Regions from separate parts of the Homo sapiens genome. Here regions 1, 2, 3, 4, 6 and 7 are each linked to region 5. The links are contacts of gene promoters, found by promoter capture Hi-C in blood cells and fetal thymus (Javierre and others, 2016). All regions are on one chromosome and are shown on one strand. Each heading gives the region's core, a stretch centred on a gene start or on the middle of the fragment in contact. The rest is flanking DNA. Distances are from core to core; before and after follow the strand shown. Region 1 overlaps PIWIL2 (piwi like RNA-mediated gene silencing 2). Region 2 overlaps BIN3 (bridging integrator 3). Region 3 overlaps CCAR2 (cell cycle and apoptosis regulator 2). Region 4 overlaps BIN3 (bridging integrator 3). Region 5 holds the start of PPP3CC (protein phosphatase 3 catalytic subunit gamma). Region 6 overlaps POLR3D (RNA polymerase III subunit D). Region 7 overlaps SORBS3 (sorbin and SH3 domain containing 3).

What was found. Contacts are between HindIII fragments. The CHiCAGO score rates a contact against its expected background, and 5 or more counts as called.
Region 1: a contact is called between a fragment that was not itself captured here and the fragment with the promoter of PPP3CC in region 5, in 1 of 17 cell types (endothelial precursors). The highest score is 5.6, in endothelial precursors.
Region 2: a contact is called between a fragment that was not itself captured here and the fragment with the promoter of PPP3CC in region 5, in 1 of 17 cell types (M1 macrophages). The highest score is 5.4, in M1 macrophages.
Region 3: a fragment that was not itself captured here is called in contact with the fragment with the promoter of PPP3CC in region 5 in 4 of 17 cell types (naive CD8 T cells, endothelial precursors, non-activated CD4 T cells and 1 more); the score reaches 5.8 in naive CD8 T cells.
Region 4: a contact is called between a fragment that was not itself captured here and the fragment with the promoter of PPP3CC in region 5, in 1 of 17 cell types (total CD8 T cells). The highest score is 5.6, in total CD8 T cells.
Region 6: a contact is called between a fragment that was not itself captured here and the fragment with the promoter of PPP3CC in region 5, in 1 of 17 cell types (endothelial precursors). The highest score is 6.1, in endothelial precursors.
Region 7: a fragment that was not itself captured here is called in contact with the fragment with the promoter of PPP3CC in region 5 in 16 of 17 cell types (megakaryocytes, total CD8 T cells, endothelial precursors and 13 more); the score reaches 28.0 in megakaryocytes.

What each region holds. Positions count from the first base shown.
Region 1 is chr8:22,284,787-22,288,195 of GRCh38, reverse strand. PIWIL2 (piwi like RNA-mediated gene silencing 2) reads right to left here. Exons shown (of 23, transcript NM_018068.5): 7 at 551-668. Among named protein-coding and RNA genes, the nearest start is that of PIWIL2, 11 kb to the right of the region's middle. The HindIII fragment of the contact is 3,099 bases long and covers 562-3,409 here.
Region 2 is chr8:22,662,434-22,665,783 of GRCh38, reverse strand. All of the region lies in intron 1 of BIN3 (bridging integrator 3), which reads left to right. Among named protein-coding and RNA genes, the nearest start is that of BIN3, 5.0 kb to the left of the region's middle. The HindIII fragment of the contact is 230 bases long and covers 1,381-1,610 here.
Region 3 is chr8:22,609,908-22,612,841 of GRCh38, reverse strand. The region is part of intron 7 of CCAR2 (cell cycle and apoptosis regulator 2); the gene reads right to left. Among named protein-coding and RNA genes, the nearest start is that of CCAR2, 6.6 kb to the right of the region's middle. The HindIII fragment of the contact is 2,403 bases long and covers 138-2,540 here.
Region 4 is chr8:22,642,806-22,645,941 of GRCh38, reverse strand. BIN3 (bridging integrator 3) reads left to right here. Exons shown (of 9, transcript NM_018688.6): 2 at 1,139-1,187. Among named protein-coding and RNA genes, the nearest start is that of BIN3-IT1, 2.2 kb to the right of the region's middle. The HindIII fragment of the contact is 340 bases long and covers 1,259-1,598 here.
Region 5 is chr8:22,439,580-22,442,952 of GRCh38, reverse strand. It overlaps PPP3CC (protein phosphatase 3 catalytic subunit gamma), which reads right to left and starts at 1,875. Exons shown (of 14, transcript NM_005605.5): 1 at 1,495-1,875. The coding sequence starts at 1,543. RefSeq lists silencers at 1,353-2,012, 2,103-2,292. The HindIII fragment of the contact is 13,070 bases long and covers 1-3,373 here.
Region 6 is chr8:22,252,457-22,255,485 of GRCh38, reverse strand. POLR3D (RNA polymerase III subunit D) reads right to left here. Exons shown (of 9, transcript NM_001722.3): 9 at 885-3,029. It overlaps PIWIL2-DT (PIWIL2 divergent transcript), which reads left to right. Exons shown (of 2, transcript NR_134293.1): 2 at 580-910. Among named protein-coding and RNA genes, the nearest start is that of POLR3D, 8.8 kb to the right of the region's middle. The HindIII fragment of the contact is 2,212 bases long and covers 361-2,572 here.
Region 7 is chr8:22,572,865-22,576,146 of GRCh38, reverse strand. It overlaps SORBS3 (sorbin and SH3 domain containing 3), which reads right to left. Exons shown (of 21, transcript NM_005775.5): 21 at 359-1,480. The coding sequence ends at 1,419. Among named protein-coding and RNA genes, the nearest start is that of PDLIM2, 6.0 kb to the left of the region's middle. RefSeq lists a silencer at 1,562-1,711 and enhancers at 1,101-1,819, 2,885-3,282. The HindIII fragment of the contact is 257 bases long and covers 1,654-1,910 here.

The DNA.
Region 1 (3,409 bases), core at 862-3,361, 150 kb after region 5:
CTCCTGAGTAGCTGGGACTACAGGCGCCTGCCACCATGCCCAGCTAATTTTTTTTATTTTTAGTAGAGACAGGGTTTCACCGTGTTAGCCAGGATGGTCTCAATCTCGTGACCTCGTGATCCACCTGACTTAGCCTCCCAAAGTACTAGGATTACAGGCGTGAGCCACCGCACCCGGCCTACATTTGCAATTTTAAGTTACTCTTTATCACTGAGGTCACAGACTTCCAACCATTCCTCTCATGTGAGAAGGTGCTTCTTGAGGAATTCAAACCTAAAATGTGCTGTGATGTCCTGCAGAAATCTGTCTTCCCCTCTATGAACAGAAAAGCACAACTCGAACATACAGGAATTCTATGGTTTCCTACCCCTCAAAACACCAGTCCTGGGCCAGGTGAAGTGGCTCACACGCCTGTAGTCCCAGGGCTTTGGGAATTCGAGACCAGTCTGGGCAACATAGCAAGACCCAATCTCTTAAAAGCAAAACCAAACAAAAAACGCCAGAGCACTCTTAGGGTTCATCTCAAAGTCCATTTCCTGTTTGGTCTCACTTGTTGAAGCTTAACAGGCAGATAGAGAATAGATCCATCAAACGCAGTGACGTTGCCGGTGACAGCTTGATGGTCCTTCAACATGCCGAACCTCATGCTTTTGCACTCCACATTGGGGCTGGAAAATAATGAAGAGGATTTTCCTTTAACTTGACTCAAACTGCAATCTTTACCAGAGCTGTGCAACAGGTGCTAGTTACCCAGTAACTGCTGCTCCATCTAGCGGGCATATTAAAAATTATCTATCTGCCTAGAACTTTGACTCAAGAAGACCTGCTCGCAGCTGAAACATCAGAAACCATAGGTCATAAAAAAATAAAAACCACCAAATCCTACCACCAAAGGACACCTGCCTTAGCACGTCAGTGTATATTCTTTCATATATACACATTTGTTTTTGAGACGGAGTCTCGCTCTGCCGCCCAGGCTGGAGTGCAGTGAAGCCATCTCAGCTCACTGCAATCTCCACCTCCCAAGTTCAAGTGACTCTCCCTTTGTTTCCTTAACATTTGTCACTCCATTTTAAGAGGAAGACTTCTCCCCATCTCCCTTTTTTTTTTTGAGATAGGGTCTTCCTTTGTCACCCAGGCTGAAGTACACTGGCATGATCATAGCTCACTGCCATCTCAAACTCCTGGGCTCAAGTGATCCTTCTGCCTCAGTCCCCCAAGTAACTGGGACTATAAGGGTACCACCACACCTGACTAAAAAAAAATTTTTTTTTGCCCTGGCTCGGTGGCTCATGCCTGTAATCCCAGCACTTTGGGAGGCCGAGGTGGGTGATCACTTGAGGCCAGGAGTTCAAGATCACTCTGGCCATCACGGTGAAACCCTGTTCTACTAAAAATACAAAAAAATTAGTGGGGTGTGGTGGCATGTGGTTGTAATCCCAGTTACTCGGGAGGCTGAGGCATGAGAATCATTTCAGCCTGGGAGATGGAGGTAGCACTGAGGCAAGACTGTGCCACTGCACTCCGGCCTGCGCAACAGAGTGAGACTCTGTCTCAAAATAAATAAATAAATAAAATTTTTTGTTGTTGTTACCTAAGACAGTCTGGAACTCCTAGCCTCAAGCAACTCTCCCTCCTCGGCCTCCCTAAGTGCTGGGATTACAGACGTGAGCCACTGCATGCAGCCCTCTCCCCTCTGTTTAATGCTCACCTCTTTGCTGTATGTTTCACAACAAGCCTGTTTCCTGGGATCCAATTTCCCCCACTTTTCTGGCTACTTCCCTCTACCTGTTGTATGTGCTCAGCTCCGCTTTCTTACCTCATAGAAACTATTACAGCAATCCTGTTGCCTTCTATAATTATTCCATTTCTCATTCCTCTTATAAACTTTTTAAATGAGTGGCCAAGTCAGTGGCTACTTCTCATGGCCTATGCCCTCCTTTGTGCTTTTCATCTTTCCTTTTTTTTCTCTACAACTGTAACAAAACTGCTAGAAGATCACAACACCCTCAACAAGCAAATTCAGTTGCTTTTTTTCCTGTGGCCAAAGTCAACCACCTTCTCATTACCTTCATTCAAAAGAGTCCTTCCTTTGGTCTTTATAACATACCTTCAGAATATTTTCTCCCTAACTGTTCCTTTCTCCTCTCTTTCACTCCACTTCTTCCTCTTGTGTCATCAACTAGCAGCTGCCCTTCACAAATTCAGCCTTCCTAGTATAGCTACCTTTAGAAATAGTATAGAAGTTTCTGGCCAGGCATGGTGGCTCATGCCGGTAATCCCAGCACTTTGGGAGGCCGAGGCAGGTGGATTACTTGAGGTCAGGAGTTTGAGACCAGCCTGGTCGACATGGCAAAACCCCGACTCTACTAAAAAAAATACAAAAATTAGCCAGGCATGGGGGCGCTTGCCTATAATCCCAGCTACTAGGGAGGCTGAGGCAAGAGAATTGCTTGAACCTTGGAGGCAGAGGTTGCAGTGAGCTGAGATTGCACCACTGCACTCCAGCCTGGGTGACAGATTGAGACCCTGTCTCAAAAGAAAAAAAAAAGAAATAGTATGGAAGTTTCTTAAAAAAACTAAAAATAGTACTAATATGATCCAACAATCCCACTTCTTGGTATTTATCCAAAGGAATTGAAATCAGTGTGTCAAAGAGATATATGTGCACTCCCATGTTCACTGCAGCACTGTTCACAACAGGCAAGACGTGGAATCAATCTAAGTGTCCACTGAATGGATAAAGTGGTATACATACACAACGGAATACTATATAGCCTTTAAAAAGAAGTACATCCTGTCATATGTGACAGTATGAAAGGATCTGGAGAGTATTATGGTAAGTGAAATAAGATAGGCACAGAAAGACAAATACCATCTGATCTCACTCATATATGGAATCTAAAAAAGTTGAACTCATTGTGAACAGAGAGTAGGAAGGTGGCTACCAGAGGCTGGGGGTTGAGGGGTATGGAGAAATGGCAGATGTTGGTTAAAATGTACAAAGTTTCAGATAGACAGGTGGAGTAAGTTTTAGTGATCTATGGTAACCATAGTTAACAACAGCGTGTATTTCAAAATTCCTGAAAGAGATTTTAAATGTTTTCACCACAAAAAAACAGTAAGTAGGTGAGGTGACACATATGTCAATTAGCCTGACTTAATCTTTCTACAATGTATACATATACCAAAACATCATCTTGTACTCATACATATACACAATTATTTTTCAGTTAAAAAAACTGAGACTTCATCTTCTCATTTTCTTCACAGGTATTTCAAAACACTCATTTTCACAATTCCAGCTAAGAACTTCCAGCTAATGACTCCTCTAAGATATTAAGAGAGAACACAAACTAATATAAACTATTTTTAAATAGTAATAAATCCTAAAATTATTGATATAAAA
Region 2 (3,350 bases), core at 246-2,745, 220 kb before region 5:
CCTGTAGTCCCTTGCCATCATCTTCAGGATAGAGGCCCAACTCTGGGCCAGGGCTTCTGAGGCCCTCTGGGCCTGGCTGTCCATCTTCACTCCGTGTGTTCCATCCTCCAAGCTTCTCCTGCTCTCTCGTGCCCATGTGCCTCTGGATAACTGTCCCTTCTGCCTGAAATGTTTCCCCTTCACTCACACCCTGTCCACTAGGCCAGCATCTACTCATCCTTCAAGAGTCAGGCCACGCTTCACCTTCTCTGAGGGTCTTCCCTGAGTGGCCCCTCACACCCTGCCATGCTGCACTGGGTGCCGCTCTTCTGACCTTCATCAGCATCTGTACTCCGCTGGCTGGTTTACTTGTCTGTGAGTTCTTGAGTATGGGGACTGTCTTGTGGTCATTGCTATTCCCTAGCACTGTTCCTGGCAGTCAGGAAGTGTTTATTAAATATATGAATGGGGCCTTTTTTCCCTTTTCCTGACTTGCCTCAGCTCAGGAAAAATGTTAAGATAAAAACTTGCAGAACCTACAAACCACTTCCTAAAATGAAGAGCCTCTGAAAGTACTATTGTTAAATTGACCGACACAAGTGGCTTCCAGGTCAGGCTGCCTGTGATTTCTCCTCCCCACTCCTTCTGATCCTCCACTCCAAAGTGCTTTGCTGGGTTTCTTCTGTACTTCCATAGTGCTTCTCCTGTAGCACTTCTGCATCCTTCTGAGTATCACAGACGTACACCTCCCTTCCACACCAACCCCATGAGAACAGGAGCGACATAGAGCTTCTTCATCTTTTTGTACGCATAGTGGGTATCATGCACATAGTGGGTATCTAACAGGTAATTGTTAAATGAATGGAATATAAAGAAGGTAAACTTCTGGGTCAAACAAAACCATTATTCAGTTTTTTTCTCAGTGAAGTCCTTTCCCCTATGATTACCGTTGCTGTCTCACATGTGTAGAGTGCTTCTAACTTTTCAGATGGCTTTCCCGTCCTTTGTCTGACTTCATGCTTATGTCTGCGCAAGCAGTGCAGTCTTATGATCCCCCTTGGTAACTTACTAGAATTCACTCAGCTAGTACCTGGAAGAACTAGAACTAAAATGTGTCTCCTGAGTATTCTGTCCCCATGATCAGGAATATTAGAAGAGTAGCAGACCATTCCCAAGCTGATTGGATCACGGAGTTTCACTTTGCTAAGGTGTGTTGACACTAGCAGGTTGGTAGTGAATCACAGGGAGTTGACAGTCTTCACACATAAGTGATAGAGGAAGTCCTTGTGTCCTGCAGACCTCTAGGTGTTCTGTAACTGGCTCAGCTTCTTCCACCTATGGGGCCCCTGCCTAAGGCAGCCTCATCACTCATGTCCTCTGTGACTTTGGACACACCAAGCTTTTCTTCCTCTGTGGAGAGCATAGTAATGCCTTGAAGACAGGGGCCCTATAAAATGTCTGTGAGATTCTGTATGTGAGCTTGCTCTTATTTCAGGCGTTTAATGAGAGGAGAAGGATTTCTTCCAGATCTTGGAGCAGTCAGAAAGAGTCAAGTGTCTTGAGTCCCACAGCTACTTAGTCAGAGGTGTTATATGTATTATACTCTTTAAGGAAATCTGTCGGAGTAAGCTTTAGAGTCAGCTGTTAAACCTATTAGAATTGTTTTCCCAAACTCATGATTTTGGTGGCTAATCCATCAAATAGGGCCCAGTATAGTGTGATGCACATACATGGTGCTCAACAAATATTTGTTGATTTAATGCTTGTTCAACATTTATAATGTGCAAAAGTCTGTGCTAAATGTTGAGGAACATTTAAAAGACTTGCATGAGTCGATCTCTATCTTCAGCCGGTGTATGGAAAGTGCTAGGGATTCAAAAGGACAGCCGATCACTAAATGTCAGTATGGCATCATCAAGAAAGACTTGAAGCAGATGTAATTTTAACTGAACCTTGACTTAGCAAATACGTGCTGTTTCAGTGGGAGGGAGAGAAGGATCCAGGTAAGAAGCATGGCATGAAAAAGGTGTGTGGAGTCAGAATGCGTCAAGAGTGTTTGTGCGGACTGTCAGGAGGCCAGCTTGGAGGTGGTAAGTAGTGGTTTGGGTAGAGGCTGCATTGGGGAGAATTGGCACTCCACCTCAGGGCCACGTTATATAGTGCTTTCAGTGCCATGCTGAGGACTTGAAATTGAGCCTAGGCTTTTGGAAATTGAAGGCTTTTGAGCAGGGAAGTGGCATGGCCAAAGCAATGATTTAGTCAGATTATTTTGGCAGTGGCCTGCAGGATAACTCAGAAGAGAAAAAATGGAGCCAAGGATGCTAACTTGGACAATAGTTTCCTTTTTTTTTTTTTTTTTTTTTTAAACAAATCGGGGGGTCTCACTGTTGCCCAGGCTGGAGTGCAGTAGTGCAATTACAGCTCACCACAGTCTCAAACTCCTGGGCCCAGGCAATCCTTCTGCCTTAGCCTCCTGAGTGGCTGGGACTATAAGTGTTAGCCACCACACCTGGACTAGTTTCCACAATTTTTTGAACACAACTCACAGTTAGAAATACCTTTGATATCACAACTCACACACACACACACACACACACTTATACTTGAAATAAAAGTTTGACACAGTATGTGTGCAATGCACTCTGATATTTTCTATTATGTTCTTGTTCATGGTTTTTCGTTTTTTGAGACAGGCTCTTGCCCTGTTGCCCAGGCTGGAGTGCAGTGGTGCCATCTCAGCTCACTGCAACCTCTACTTCCCGGGTTGAAGCGATTCTCGTGCCTCAGCCTCCCAGATAGCTGGGATTACAGGCATGCACCACCATTTTTTAGTAGAGACTGAGTTTCGCTATGTTAGCCAGGCTGGTTTCTAACCTCTGGATTCAAGTAATCCACCCGTCTTGGCCTCCCAAAGTGCTGGGATTACAAGCATGAGCCACCGCGGCCAGCCTTGTTTGTTTTTTTAAAGAATGACCCACCTCAGTTGACTTTTTTTTTCTTTTTTTCTTCCTGAGGTGAGTGCATATGATTTTTTAATTTCATGACTGATTTTGATCTATGTATATAATGGAAGACTGTGTAGCAGTTTAAATGACCTTTGAGTGATAGATGTTCTGCAAAGACCTCAAGTTTGAAAACCATCTGTCTAAGAGTATCATTACAAATACTCAGACGATAAGCTAACACCTTTGACTCCAGCAACTGAAGATAGGGTTACTTGTGTATTTGGTTGTTTCACTGGGTTAATAAAAAATAACAGAAGGGGCAGCTGTAAAGAACACTGGCTGAGTTCTTTATAAGAACTTATTCCATAGATTTGAAAACTGTCAATTGCTTTCCAGAAAAGAAAACCCAAGTGAACAAAAGCTCAT
Region 3 (2,934 bases), core at 90-2,589, 170 kb before region 5:
TGTTTTAATAAACATTCCTGTTAAGCAAAAAGCACACTCTGCAACATTGTATACACAGTAGGCCTCAGCTACTGCAAAAACAACTTTAGAAGACTGAAAGGAAATAAAATATTAATGATGGAAGCCTCTGGAAAGCTTACGAATAATTTTCTATTTTTCTGCACTTCATTAATTATAGTTAACGTGATTTTTTTGAAATGAGAAAAAAATGATTTTTCTTTTAAAAACAAGAGACGCATATATGGATCCATGCTATGCGTCCTTTAAAGTAAATTTGGCCGGGCGCGGTGGCTCACGCCTGTGATCCCAGCACTTTGGGAGGCCAAGGCGGGCAGATCACGAGGTCAAGAGATCGAGACCATCCTGGCCAACATGGTGAAACCCCGTCTCTACTAAAAATACAAAAATTAGCTGGGCCTGGTGGTGCGTGCCTGCAGTCCCAGCTACTTGGGAGGGTGAGGCAGGAGAATCGCTTGAACCCAGAAGGTAGAAGTTGCAGTGAGCCAAGGTTGCACCACTGCACTCCAGCCTGGTGACAGAGCAAGACTCCGTCTCAAAAAAAAAAAGTAAATTTTATTAGAAGAGACGGTTACAAGGCTGGGCGCGGTGGCTCACGCCTGTTATCCCAGCACTTAGGGAGGCCGAAGTGGGCGGATCACTTGAGGTCGGGAGTTCAAGACCAGCCTGGCCAACACGGTGAAACCCTATCTCTACTAAAAATACAAAAAAGTAGCCAGGTGTGGTTGCACACGTCTGTAATCCCAGCTACTCGGGAGACTGAGGCAAGGAGAATCGCTTGAACCGGGGAGGCGGAGGTGGCAGTGAGCCGAGATCGCGCCATTCCACTCCAGCCTGGGCAACAAAGCGATACTCTGTCTCACCAAAAAAAAAAAAAAGAGAGACAGTTACAAATCCTTAATAATACACATTAAAGTCATAAAAACACTCAAACCATTTGCTCCAGTAATTACACTCTTGAAAATTTGTCCCAAGAAAGTTAATTCAAAAGAAGAAGAAAGACTACACATAGTGGAAAAATATGAAGCAGCATAAACTGAGAGTAAAAAACCAAATACATACTCAGCAATACCCAAATTTTCATAGTAAATACAAACAATCACGCAGCCATTAAAACACTCAGGATTATGCTGCAATATGGAAAACTGTTTATAAATACACAAAAATAATTTGAACTGTAAGATTAAAATTGCAAAAAGTATGCACATGTATAGATAAAAACTAGAACACAGGAGAAAAGAGTGGCAAGAGATTTTCCTTTTCAAAATTATTTTCTAAAATTCTTTAATACCTACCTGTTAACAACAGTTACCTTTAAAGAGAAAGAAGGTAGAAACCACACATATTTTTACATATATATATACACACACACATATGTATACACACACACATATATACACACATATATACACACACATACACACACACACACACATATATATACTTTTTTTTTTTTTTTTTTTGAGACAGAGTCTTGCTCTGTTGCCCAGGCAGGAATGCAGTGGCGTGATCTCAGCTCACTGCAACTTCTGCCTCCCGGGTTCAAGCAATTCTCCTGCCTCAGCCTCCCGAGTAGCTGGGATTACAGGTACCCACCGCCATGCCTGGCTAATTTTTGTATTTTTAGTAGAGTCAGGGTTTCACCATCTTGGCCAGGCTGGTTTTGAACTCCTGACTTCAAGTAATCCGCCCGCCTCAGCCTCCCAAAGTGCTAGGATTACAGGCATGAGCCACCGCGCCTGGCCTACGTATTTATATTATTTTAATTTTATGTATTTATATTATTTTAATTTTATATAATAGCATGTACTGCTTTACACATTTTTATAATAAGTCACCACAGTATTACACTATAACTACGTTATAAGTGCAATAGATATGGGTACAATAAATAAAAATAGTTGAGGAGAAAAAACCTTTAGACCATTCATTATAACGTGCCAGACTGATAAGGGGAAAACCCCCCATGTCACATGAGAGAAATAAAACCCACTGCCATTTCTCTGTGCCTGGGTAACTGAGTTGATTGTATTCACCAGAAGGTTCTTGTTCTGCCTTTTAGACCTGCCTGGGTCATTTCCCTGTTCACACCCCAGTGACTAAGCTGAAGAGATTTATCATGATGCCTGCTCTTTTCTGTTGGCCTTGGTCACTTCCATGTGCATGAGCATCTCCATCCAAAAGTGGCCTTCTTCTCTAGCCCCGATGGGATGTCAGTAGCCCATGTTTCTAATAGAAGACCCATGCCAAAGCCACTTTGACAACTCTCCAGCTCGCAGGAATGCTGTCGGCCTCTAGCTAAACTGTTATGGTCCACTCAACGCTGTACACTGTGTGGCCACTTTCCTCCGCTTCCTGTACATTGTCAGGAGGTTGTAAGGCAGCACCAGGGGCTGACCTCTCAGGACTTGCAGCAGCAGAGCCCAGCTGGGTACACCTGTCTAAAAACCACAGCACAGCAGTAGCAGCTCAATGGAGACATTGTTCTCTGCATCCCAAAGCCAGGAATTCAAAATAAAGCTTGGCTTCCATGCAAAACATTAATGTGGCTGAGTCCTTCATAAATTAAAAGCTGAGAAACTAAATAAATAAATAAAAGTTGCTGCCCCAGAATGACCTACTTCCTACTACCCCTGGCCCCACTCTGCACATTCTCTCTACTGACGAATGGTAATATAATATCTCCCTCCCAATGGTAGTATAGGTTGAGTATCCCTTATCTGAAATGCTTGGGACCAGAAGCATCCTGGGTTTGGAATTTTTTTCAGATTTTGCAATGTTTGCATTATACCTACTGGCTGAGCATCCCAAATCCAAAAATCCAAATCTGAAATGCTCAATAAACATTTCCTTTTGAGTGCCATGTCAGCACTCAAAAAGTTCTCGATTTGAGAGTACTTTGGGTTTAAGGATTTA
Region 4 (3,136 bases), core at 179-2,678, 200 kb before region 5:
TAGCAAGTCCAAGGCAGACTTGGGCTGGATTTCAGATTATTTTCCAAGTTAGCAGCTTTTTGATTTTGTGAGTTTTCCCAGGGAAATAATCCAGCCCGGCCAATCACTAATGCCTCTGTTATTTATTAACTCTCCCCAGCCTCCAAAGAAGATTTGCAGATCCAAAGTTTGCCCCTCTATAGAGAAGTAGCAAAGCACCTAATATAGACCATAATGATTCGTGATTTCAAGGATGATAGCTATTACAGTGAGTCTGTAATTTCTGAGTTTGCACCTCCTCAAGACACAAGGTTTTATTGTCATTCACAGGGTGTCTTCCCTTTCCTGCCATCCTCGCGGGTGTCTTCCCTTTCCTGCCATCCTCGCCTTTCCTCTCTTCCCCTTTCCTTTCCTTTCCTTTCCTTTCCTCCCCCTCCCCTTCCCCTTTCTTCCCTTCTGTTCCCTTCCTTTATCTCTTTAAAAGACAGGGTCTCCCTCTGTTGCCCAGGCTAGGGTGCAGTGGTATGATCATAATTCACTGCAGCCTCAAACTCCTGGGCTTAAGTGATCCTCCTGCTTCAGCCTCTCAAGTGACTGGGACTACAGGCATGTGCCACCACGCCCGGCTAATTTTTGGTGGTTGTTTTTTTGTGTTTTTTTTTTTGAGATAGGATCTTGCTATATTGCCCAGTCTAGTCTTGAACTCCTGGCTCAAGCAGTCCTCCACCTGGGCCTCCCAAAGTGCTGGGATTGCAGGTATGAGCTGCCATACCCAGCGGATTTTTTTTTTTTTTTTTGGAGATAGGGTCTTGCTCTGTCGCTTAGGCTAGAGAACAGTGGTGCAATTATAGGTCACTACAGCCTCAAACTCCTTGGCCTCACCTTTTCATTTTCTTTAAATGACAGACTATCAGTAGCAAAGATGTTCTGGGGCAGAGCAACCTGCATCTGACACTGTAGGTGGGAGGACCTATCTCTCTCTTAGAACCAAGCCCAGATGCCAATGGTTGTATGCCCACCAGGGCACATGGTCCAAGTAGCAAGCCATGGCCACGCTTCCTCGCCCTCCTGGGGGAAAGTGGCCTGTACTGTACTGATACTTTGAGCTGCATCCTTCCCCACTTCTCACAATATCTCTCTTTGTCTCTTTCTCTTATAGGATTCCTTTTAAGATTGGGCAGCCCAAGAAACAGATTGTGCCCAAAACAGTGAGTAACTCGATTGTTTTGCTGTGAGATTCAGTTCTGTATCACATGGCCTTTGCATAAGAATCAAAGCTTTGAATCAACACATCTTGGGGCTGGGAAGACAGCAACCTGGGCCTTCTTCCTGCTTATGCGGATCTAGAACCTCACATAGACTGAGGCTTAGAGGGGCCTCCTGTCCTGGGACACTTCCCCTAGGAAAGGTTAGCCTGGGCTCTTTATCATCCTTGGGCAGGGGGAATGGGTGGATTACAAAAATGTAGAGGAAGATATTGCTTTAGAACGGTCCACCTCTAGGGACTGGCTTGTGGTCTATACTTTTCCTAAGAGTGTTCCTGAAAGAGTGGCCCCCACCAAAGACACTGCCCAGGCATTTATTTCTGTTACCTCAGCTGCAGAAAACTCCAGGAAGCTTTTCCCAGTGGCCTCGGCCTGTTTGTGTCAACTTCCAAATGCATTCTTGGCCATGACCCAGAGTCACTCAGCAGGAAAGGAAGATTGAATCCCACCCCCCTTTAAGCCCACAGTTTTTATCCCTAGAAAGTTTTTATCTCCAGAATGGGAAAGGAAGAGAATCATAGATTCTTAGGAAGTTAGAGCTGGAAGCTCATAGAGACCATCTAGTCCAACCTCCTGATTTTTCCTGATGAAGAAAATGAGGCCCGTGGAAAGTTGCAATGACTTCCTCAAGTTATAAAAACCCCACACTGGCAAAGCTGGAGTTAGAACTCAGGCGTGAGCCCCTGGCTGATACTCTTTCCATTGCCTCATGCTTCCCTGGGCAGTGAAGCCCTCCCAGTGTTTTGGAATCCCGGTGCAAAATAGCCTTTTCAACCTCCTGACCCACAAATCTGAGTGGGTCTCTTGGTTTTAACATGGGAGACCACAACTGTAGAGCCTCTCTGATGTGACAGCTACAGGAAGTCCGGTGCTGTGCTGGCGGCAGAGGCCCTCGTCTGTCATCCCAGCCCCTGACGGTTCTCCTTGTCTTACTAGCTTCTCCCCTCCTTGGCAGAGCTCTCAAAAGTACAGGAAAGAGATTGCTTCAGTGTGGTGAGAAGTTTGGCACACATCTGACCAATGGCTCCATCTCTAGCAAATCCAGAGTAAGGTCACTTGAGAGGAAACAGGCCCAAGTTAAAAGCACCCTCACAGGGTCCAGTGGCTTACGCCTGTAATCCAACACTTTGGAAGGCCAACGTGGGGGCATCATTTCAAGCAAGAAGTTTGAGACCAGCCTGGGCAACAAAGAGAGACCCCGACTCTACCAAAAAATATGCACGCCTGTAGTCCCAGCTACTTGGGAGGCTAAAGCAGGAGGACTGCTTGAGCGCACGAGTTCGAGGCCACAGTGAGCTCTGATTGCACCACTGCACTCCACCCTAGGTGATAGACTGAGACCCTGTCTGTTAAAAAAAAAAGTTGGGGGGTGGGGCCTCTCTGCTTCATGCAGAGGCAGGGTGCTGACCAACTCAGCGCTGACCTCTCATGCAGAGGCTGACCATCTGTGGAGGCTCTCAGCTGAAGTCCAAAGAATCTGGGTGTGCATATGTTGGTCTCTAGCCGGCTGCAGGAAGTGGGAAGGTGTGGCTTTGAGTCTCCAGAGTTTAATCCATGACAGATCTGAAAGGGAAGTGGTTTCAAGAGGGTTCTTTTATTCTGAATGCTCACTACAAACAAAAACCCTCCCAGCACCCCAACCTTTATCAAAATGAACTTTGTTCTCCACAGAAAGTGTAGACAAACCAGCTGCTTTGCCAGTGTGTTGGTGGCAAGATCTCTGGCTCCGTTGATCTAAGGAGTGGCAAGGACTCGCAGTGCGGGCAGATGCACACAGGGCATCCCTCTTCCCTTCCTCGCATCTGTCTCGCTGGAGATGGAATTGTGGTCCTCTGATTATGGCATCTGCTCTCTGATAGACTGGGGGTCAGGTAGGGGTTAAGAAACTAGGT
Region 5 (3,373 bases), core at 626-3,125:
ACAGAAAACAGTACTGGAGAGAGAAACTAAAAGCAAACAAAACACTGAACTGGTATAGCATTGCGAAGTCATTTTAGTACAGGACGAAACTGCTAACAACTTTATACAGCAGAACGCACCGGCCATATTAACAGCACAGTACAGAAATTAATGTACATAATGACCTTGATTCCTCAAAAAAGGTTATGTTAAGTACACTCTGAATCTTAAGAGAGGGCTATATACTTCTTATAGGCTATACACTAATAATATGAAGACACATTTAAATGGTCACAATAATTTAGCTGTTCAGGGGATAATGTCAGTTAGATGAACAATTCAGTTAAACCTCTAACGATAGCATACAAATGCTAAGCAGATAAATCTCAAAAATCCCATTATAATTATGTAGTACAGATAATTAACATTTATGAGGCTGATTTGGGGAGAGAGGGGGGAAACCTAAGTTATACACTAAAATTCTTCCCCCTCCCTGAACATGCAATAAGGCGTTTCACCTTTTAAAAATGTATTCCCGTCACTAGTATTAGTTGCCTTTCTCCTTCTAATACCAAAATGAAAAAGAAGAAAAGTATCTTAATAATTTTCCCCACTGTCACGCTAACCCCTGCATCCAGAGGCCACTAACACAGCTGGTCTAAGTCTATTCCCTTCTTACAAAATAGCGCTTTCAAACCGATTGTTAATCTCAGAGAGAAGGGTTGTGCCTAAGACTTACGGCTGAATAAAAGCAGCACATAAATTAGTGGTTATGTGTAATCCATCTTCTTAGTTTAAAGGGAGAAACAACTATAACCTAAAACTCTACAAGATTTAGAGAGCAAAGAGCCCTTTACATTTTGTTCTTATAACAACAACAGAAATCTAACGCAGGTACACATATGAATCAGAAAACGTCATTCTCCAAGTCTTTATAACCAAAGGGAAAATAAAATACCATTACCCTGTCAAGAGCTCCGTAAACTTATTTTAAACATCATATAATGGATTTATCTGACTTGTTCATACTAAGTTTATTCCAGTAATAGCAGTGACTTGCAATGATCTAGAGAAAGCGGGTCAAAAGGCACATGGTATACGTCCTAAAAAAGGGTGGGGGGCGGACGTCAAGAAAGATCTAATCTTAAATATCTTACTTGGAAGAGTCGACTCCCTGCTCACACCACCCCCGATGGCTTCCCCCGAGTCGTTTCTTAAAGAGAAAAAAAGACAGGGATCCGGGCCCTTCGGGGCGGTGGGAGAAGAAGTCCCCACTGCACCCTGAACCCTTCGGGAGGGAACTTGGCACTGACGGCCAGGCACCTGACCAGGTGCAGCAGAAAACGCCGGGTCCGGGTGGCTGCTCTCGGAGGCTGCCGCCCGGCTCTGTCTACACCCCTCCGAGCCCTCCTAGGGTGGGCGCAGCCCGGCCCCAGCCTCCCTCCGCCCCGAGCCGCCGCCCAGCCGAAGGCCGTTTCCCGCGGGTCCCAGAGGAAGGCCCGGCCCGCCAGGCACCTTTGATGACGCGGTCGGTGGTGGAGAGGTGGAAGCGCCTCCCGGACATGGTCCCCTCGGCCTCCTCCAGGCTCCAGGAGCCCGCCGGACGTGCGCCTACGCCGCGGCCGCCGCCTTCTCCTCGGGCAGCCTTAGCTGCCCGGAGCCGTCAGCCAGCCGTGCCCGGCCCCGGCTCCTCAGCGGTGTCCGAGCACCAGAAGGGCGCGGCCACCGCAGCGCCGGCCTCCGACGCCACTGACAGGACGAGGGCCCACCGGCCGCTCTCTTGGGAGGCGCCAGCGGCTAAGGCGGGGAACACCGCTTCGGCACCGACCGCGACCGCTGCTAAGGGTGGCGACCGGGACGGCCGCGGCTGCTCGCGGCCCGGGCCCTCGTGCACGCAAGCGCGCCCCCGAGCGCCGCTCTCACAACTTCCCAGCGGCCCCGCTGTCCTAGCGGACCCGGCCGGGCCTCCCGCCCCGAGCGCCGCCCTCCCCACCCTTCCGCCTTCCCGCGAGGCAGTAGAGCTCGGCGCACGCGCTGCTCTCGGCTCCTCCGGCTCCGGGTCCCTGCTGCTAACCGCCCATTTTCGCTTCTTCTCAGCCAGCCCTCCCCGCAGCCGGCCCCTTCTCTCCTGCCAGCCCCTACCCGGGCCCGGAACATCTGAAACCCGCCCGCGTGGCCCGCGCGACCCGCGCGGGAGGCCGGCCCGGCCATCTTGCGACCCGGCCCTGCGGCCTCGCAGCGGCTCCGCGCCGCCTCCTGGGACCGCCTCGCCGAGAACCCCTGGCCTCCCAGTCCTCGCCCACAGGCGACCACCCTCCTCACCTCTGGGTCTCCCACCCGCTTTGTCTCAAGGAGTGTGATCAGTCCGGCCGCGCTCCTTCAGTTTTTGTGGGTCATTCAACAAACGCACACATTTAAACCCCCTCGCTTCATCTTTCCCGCTTGTTGAGTGCAGTTAGTACAATGAGAAGGACATTCGTGTCCATCCTAGTTCCAGTCCAGTAGCTAGGGCGGTGGGGGATTGGGGGAGCTCCGTTTCTGAGCAAGGCTCTGCTCCCTCCTCACTTTCCACATCGAAGAGAAGGGAGATCTCTGCTCCTGGGACCCCCGGGCCGGACCTCCTCGGCCACAAGAACTGACCTCTTCCTATGCCCTGTGTGTCACCTGCCCAGCTAGAAGCCCCTTTTTTCTTCCCCCTGACACAGTACCTGCCTCCCCGGCCCAGGCTCACTGTGGAACCCCATGGGCAAGTCCGTAGAAACTTAACAGTCTGTTCATCTCGAGGTTAAAAACTAACCTTTATCTGTCCTTAAAACTGTAAGCCTAGAACAGAAACTGGCTCCAACTGTCCTCTCACTGAGTAACTGGCAAAGTCAAAAGGATTTTGACTTTTAGCAATGCAAATGAAATATTGAAACTGATGTCCAATAAAACATATGCAAGTTACAGGCAAAACCAGTCTTAACAATTACCGCAGTGACCGATAAGTAGTTGTAGCTATGTAAATTTAAATTAATCCCGTTCCTCTAGGGGACTAGCCACATTTCAAGTGTTCAAGAGCTACACGCGGCTACCTTATTGGACATCCAGAAAATTCTACTGGACAGCTGTTAGGTAAAAGATTATAGGATTAAGCGTAAATCTCCAATAATATGGATTTATGTATAGGCGGTCTGGGGATATATAGTGGAATCAGACCCTGAATTATCCCTTGGAATTTTGACCATAGCTCTTTGATGGTAACCGCAGGAGGCAAAAGGACTTTAGGAGCCGACTAGAATTTGGTTTTCGTTTTCATGATCCTTGAGTCTTCCACCCAAGAGAATTGTTCAGATATCCTGGGGAAACTCTTCATTTAAGAAGTAACCAGAACTCCACGCCTATCAAATCATAC
Region 6 (3,029 bases), core at 217-2,716, 190 kb after region 5:
GCCAACAGTGATCAAGACTGCATTTTTCTTTTTCTTTCATGTAAGCTTTCTATTTTTTTTTTTTTTTTTCTGAGATGGAGTTTCACTCTTGTTGCCCAGGCTGGAGTGCAATGGCGTGATCTTGGCTCACCGCAACCTCCGCCTCCCAGGTTCAAGCAATTCTCCTGCCTCAGCCTCCCAAGTAGCTGGGATTACAGGCATGCACCACCACGCCCAGCTAATTTTGTATTTTTACTAGAGACGGGGTTTCTCCATGTTGAGGCTGGTCTCGAACTCCTGACCTCAGGTGATCCGCCCACCTTGGCCTCCCAAAGTGCTGGGATTACAGGTGTGAGCCACTGCGCCTGGCCCATGTAAGCTTTCTTAAGATGTAAAGACTGCATTTTTTTTCTGACTATATCTTAAATGTAGATGAGCCAAGTAACAAAGTCCAACTTCTGACTCAGTTTTTGGGAAGACAGATCAGTGGTTACCCCAATGGAAGGGAACAGAAGAAATGCTTTAGAAGAGCTGAGGCAGAAAGTGGCCATGCAGAGGGCTCCTAGAACTGGTGTCCCATCACCATCTCTGTTTTTTCAGATGACACCCCTAAGACCTGAGCCCCTTCTGGGCCCCACACTCCACCTGTAGAACTCTGATGGGGCCTTGTGCGGCCGAACCACAATCCAAGAGAGGTGTTCACATCATGTGTCGCTAGCCACAGCCATCTCAAGGGGAAATGCCCCAAATGTAGAAGTATCTGACACCAGGACTGGGGGTTGGAGCACTGGATGAACAGCGTGTGTGCCACTCTTTCACTGTGCACCGTCCTAAGAAAGAAGCCTGTTTCCCTTTGAAGAGCCTAGTGCTGACTGCCCAATTCAATCGGACCACGCAGGGCAGTCTGAGGATTAAAAGATGCTACCTTTAATTCCTTCGGCTAATTCAGAAGTATGTGAAACACAACATACTCATTAACATGGAAGAACTGGATGTGTGTGCATGTGGGTGTGTATTATTTATTTTTCAGAGACAAGGTTTCACCATGTTGCCCAGGCTGGTCTTGAACTCCTGGGCTCAAGTGATCCTCCCACCTCAGCTCCAGAGTAGCTGGGAACGAAGAATTGTATGTATTTCTGAGTGAGATAGAGTACACGATAAAACCACATAATTTATATCATTATAAATAACATACAAAATTTTGGAGGCTGAAATAATATACATGAGCAGTCATAAAATACAATGAAATCATGTGCTTTGCAGCCACATGGATGGAGCTTGAGGTAATTATCCTAACCTCGGAAACAGAAAATCAAATAGCACATGTTCTCACTTATAAGTGGGAGCTAAATAATGGGTACCTATGGACATAAAGATGGAAATAGCAAACACTGGGCACTCCAAAAGGGGGTGAGTGGGAGGGGGGGCAAGGGTTGAAATGCTACCTGAGTACAATGTTCACTATTTGGGTGATAGGTATGACAGAAGCCCAATCCCCACCAGTACGCAATATACACAAACACGCACATGTGGCTGGGCGCAGTGGCTCACGCCTGTAATCCCAGCACTTGGGAGGCTGAGGCAGGTAGATCACTTGAGGTGAGGAGTTTGAGACCAGCCTGGCCAACATGGTGAAACTCCCGTCTCTACTAAAAATACAAAAATTAGCCAGGTGTGGTGGCATGTGCCTGTAATCCCAGCTATCTGGGGGGCTGAGGCGGGAGGATCACTTGAACCTGGGAGACAGAGTTGCAGTAAGCCAAGATCACACCACTGGGCGACAGAGTGAGACTCCATCTCAAAAAACAAAACAGAACAAAACAAAACAAAACAAAACTAACATGCTCATGTACCTGCTGAATCTAAAATAAAATAATATACACTAAAATGTTAAAATTGATTTTAGTAGAATAAAAGGTGACTGAATATTTTAAAAAGTTATGCCTAGATGAATACTTTATGATTTTACATTGCAGCATTTTTTGAACATGGCAGCAGCTACTATGAATTGTCTATCCAACTGCCACTCCAGCTTCCTCCCTACTAACAAAACCCCAGCTCAAGGGCAAGTGTGCTCAGTGCCAGGGGATACACTAGTCGACCCATCCCCCTTTGCCAGGGCCTGGTCCAAGAGTGGGCACGTGGCCCCACTCTATAAAGAGACAGGGGGGAGGTTGCTGGAGCTGCTGACGGTTATTCCCGGATAAGGGCAGAATGAGAAGGCTCCTGTACTACTGTCCACTCTGGCTGTGGACACCATCATTTGCAGAATGATGCTTGGCGCAGGAGCAGCCATTCTGCAATACTGAGGATGGCAAAGCAGACGGTTCCAAGGAAATCCTGATGACATTTTGGCTTCCACCCAACTCTAGAACCATCTATTTACAGACTTTTTGCTATGTGAGATAAACATTCCCATTGCTTAAGCCACCGTCAGGCTAATTTTCTGTTACTTGTGCTGATCACATCCTGTTATAGGCAGTTATCTGTCTGGCACCGAATAAATGCCTCATGTTCACTCTAATTTAAAAGCAACCCTATTAAGCTACTACTGTCTCACTCTTACATAAAATAAAATAAATAAAATCAAGCTTAAAGAGGATAAGTGATTTTTTCCAACCAAAGTTACTGGTGGAGTCAGATTCAAACCCAACCGTGACTCGACAGCCTGGACTCTGCCACTTAAACATGTAGTTAGAAAAGTGTGCAAGCCTATTGTTCCTTCTTTCTGTATTTAACAGAAAGCATATACACAGATGCAGGGAGCAACAAATTTGCATCCACTTGCACTCATGTATAAATTTGGCTTTGGGCTCTTCTCCTCTGTCATCTGTCCATATTCCTTGGTAGAAATGCATGCCTCAGGGGCCTGACCAAGAAGGTGGACTCTCCTCTCTTTTCCCACACTTATTAATAAGACCTAATTTGTGCATCAGGGATCTGAGACAGGTTGTGAGGACTTTGATACGGAGTCATAAGGTTCAAGCCAAGACATCTGAATGGGCGAAATGAACGTGAAAGCAGTACATGTTCTTCCTCAAACTTTCTTG
Region 7 (3,282 bases), core at 533-3,032, 130 kb before region 5:
GGGAGGCAGAGACTGCAGTGAGCCGAGATCGGGCCACTGCGCTCCAGCCTGGGCGAAAGAATGAGACCCCATCTCACACAGAAAAAAAACAACAAAAAACAAACAAACAAACAAAACACCCTTGTTCAAGAGGAGTTTTGGCTGGCTGTGCTTGACCACTCCCAGCTTCCCGCAAAGGATTGCTCAAAAGCCTGAGCCCAAAGAGGAGAATAAACACACACACACACACACACACACACACACAAGGGCTTCGGTGTGGAAACAGAGCACACAGAAGGAAAACAGCAGAATAGTTAGAAATGTCATCTAGCCCAGCAACCCCACGGTGGCAGCTCCAGAATCAAAACAGTCTGCAAACAAGGCCACATTCAGTCCCCCATCTCTGGTGTCTCCCTGCTACCAGGGCCTGGCACTGTTCATTCTCCCAGCACTTCTTGCCACACAGCTGCCCAATTGTGGGGGCTGCCGCAACCTGCCTGACACCCAAGGGCAGAGATCTTTGGAGGTAATAATGGTGTTTTTCCATCCTCCTCCTCTTACACACACACCTGTCCCACCTGTCTCCCAGCACAGCCCTCCACAGAAGGAATTCCCATCTCCTAGACAGGAGGAGGCATCCCCTACCCCAAGGAAAAGGCCGCAGAGACAAGGTCCCTTGTGTCCAGGTTTATTTTACATTCTCTTCCAGAGGGGATGTGGGGCTGGGGGAGAGCCAGCAGGCAGGCGGGCAGCACACAGCAGTCTCCCTGGGGAATATTTGAGCCAGGCTAGTGGTGCCTGGCCCCACAGTGCGGGGTGATATGCCAGGGCCAGGGCCAGGACTTGGCAGCCCCTGGGAAGAGGAGGCCTTGGGGCCAGAGCTCTTGCCAGGCCTAGATCGCTAAGAAGGTGCTGCGTCTGTCCCCCGCCTTGCTCCGCCCCCCCACACCCAGCTGGAGGCCAGAAGGCAAAGAGGGCAGCCAGCAAGCTGGGGTGCTGGGAGGAACCCCAGCAGGCGGGGGCGGCCTTTGGTCTCTACGAGGCTAGGAAGCTGGTTCTGGTTAGAGGAACCCCGTGGGGGCAAAGCGGAGAGCTGGTCCCTGTTAGAGGAAACGCTGGAGCAGGATGGGGGTGGGGGACTTGGGGTCTGGTCTCAATAAGGCCTGGAAATGGTCTCCGCTTCAAAGCAGACCTCTGTATTTGGGGAGTGGGGTGGGGAGGAAATGAAAGGGCTGTGGGAGGAATGCCTGTGAGTCGTGGGTGGGAATCAGTCCAGGGGGCTTCGAGGGGGGTCCGAGGGAAAGGCTGCGGGGGTCGTCTGCAGATGCTGGGAGCTCAGGTCCTGGGGAAGGAGGATGTGGGCGGGGGTCCTCTCCCTCCCACGAGTGCCACCGCTCCCCACCCCATCCTGGCTGGCTCCAAGTTGCCATGGAGACCACTCACACCGGGGCAACGTAATTTCCAGGGAACGTTCCGAATTTCTGGGTCCTCCGGGAGACACCTGAAAGAGGAAAGGCAGGAAGAGCTTTCCCCACTCCCTTCTTTAACAGGGATGCAGGGGTGAGGGCCTGCCCCCTGCCGGCAGTGCCCAGAACTGTAGGGGAGTTCTGTAGGGGAGCCCAGAGAGGGAATTGGATTTGCTCTCCTCCTTCCTGCCCCCTAGCGGCAGAAGCTTAGATGGGCAAAGCTACACTTCCCACACTCAACCACCAAAGAATCTGAGCAATCAACAAATGTGCATCACACTGTACACAGCAGAGTCACTCCCCCCCTCCTCCGCAAAGTGGGGACACAGGAGGAGGAATCACAGAACTGAAATCGGGAGAAACGTCCCTGGTCTAATAGGGCACCCTCACTTAGAGATGGGTGGGAAGGCCTATGGGAAGGCTGAATGCATTGCCCGAGAGCACCCCGACGCTTAGGAGTAAGCTTGGGACTCCGATCCAGGCCTCTCAGCCCCACAGAAACTCGTGTCTTGAAGAGGAGGAGGGGGGGGAACCCCAGCGGGCAAAGCATCTGGGGGGCCTGGCACCCGATGCTTCCCCAAAGCCAGCACTTCTGTTGGCTGCTTTCCTTCGTGCCATGAAGAGAAGGACGCCCTGGAGGAAACTGGCACCACCCCAGGGTCACTGATGGAGTCACTGGGGACCCAGGCCGGGGTTGCCGACCTTCAGAGCCCTGCCCCTTTTCCCTGCACACCCCTGCCTCTGGAGCAGCCCTTGGGGAGAGCGCCTGGTGGAAAGGACCAGGGCTCACACCTGTGTATCCCCACACCCCCCAGCTGGTTCCTCCAGCCTGGGAGGAAGAGGGAATGGAGAAATATAGAAATACAGAAATGTAATAAATATTATTATATTCCTATATATAGAAAAATAGGAATATAAACTGAAATGAACGTCACTCCTGACCTTGGGTGAATGGATGATCCTGGGCCTCCCCTTCCAGGCTGGCACCCTGACTTCCTTGGGGGCAGCCCGTGCTCGTCCCACCCCCACCCTCGTCCTCTGCCCCGAGTACCTCCCTTTCCTCTTGGCCTCCCCAAATCCTTCCCCTGCCCTTCCAGGCCCAGCTCCCTCATTTCCTCCAGGAAGCCTTCCCTGACCTGCACTAACTAAAATGGGCACCACTCGCCACCTGTGGCTGTTGGGCACTTGAGATGTGCCTGTGCAACTGAGGAACTGGATTTTTAATTTATTTCATTTGAGCTACATTTCAACAGCTGAATGCCGCCGGTGGCTGCCATACCGGAAAGGGCACAGGTCTCGCCCATTCCTCTCAAAGCGCTTGTGGCTCCTAATACAAAAGTGGTACTTTTTCTTCTTGTCTGCATAGGTTTGCAAAACTTTATTAGTAGTTGTAAAAAAATTCCAAAGCAAAAGTGTATCCAGTAAATTTGAATGCATCTCCAAGCACCGCCTCCCTCCCTCCCCCACTAGAAGGTAGGGGCCATTCACAGGCTAGTGCTTAATGGTCCTGGGTGGGTCAGTACAGCTGGCTGGCAGCTGTACTGGGATCAGATCAGGAAGGGTGGGCTGCCAGGTCAAGGGGCTGCCCAAGCAGCCCCCCAACTCCTCAGGCTTCAAAGCCTGCTTGGGGCAGGGCAGGGGGCTTCTGGCCACTCTCTTCTCTCTGGGGACGGCCCATCCTTTGAAGATGAGACCTGCACAGGGCCCGCCCACTCTGGGGAAAGAGGCCATGTGAAGCCTGGTGGGTTGGTCACCTTGATTCAGGCTGAGGCCAACCTGAGGCTTCCTGCATTTGTCCTTGGTCAGAGCTGCCCTTGGGCCAGCCCTGAGGGGCTGG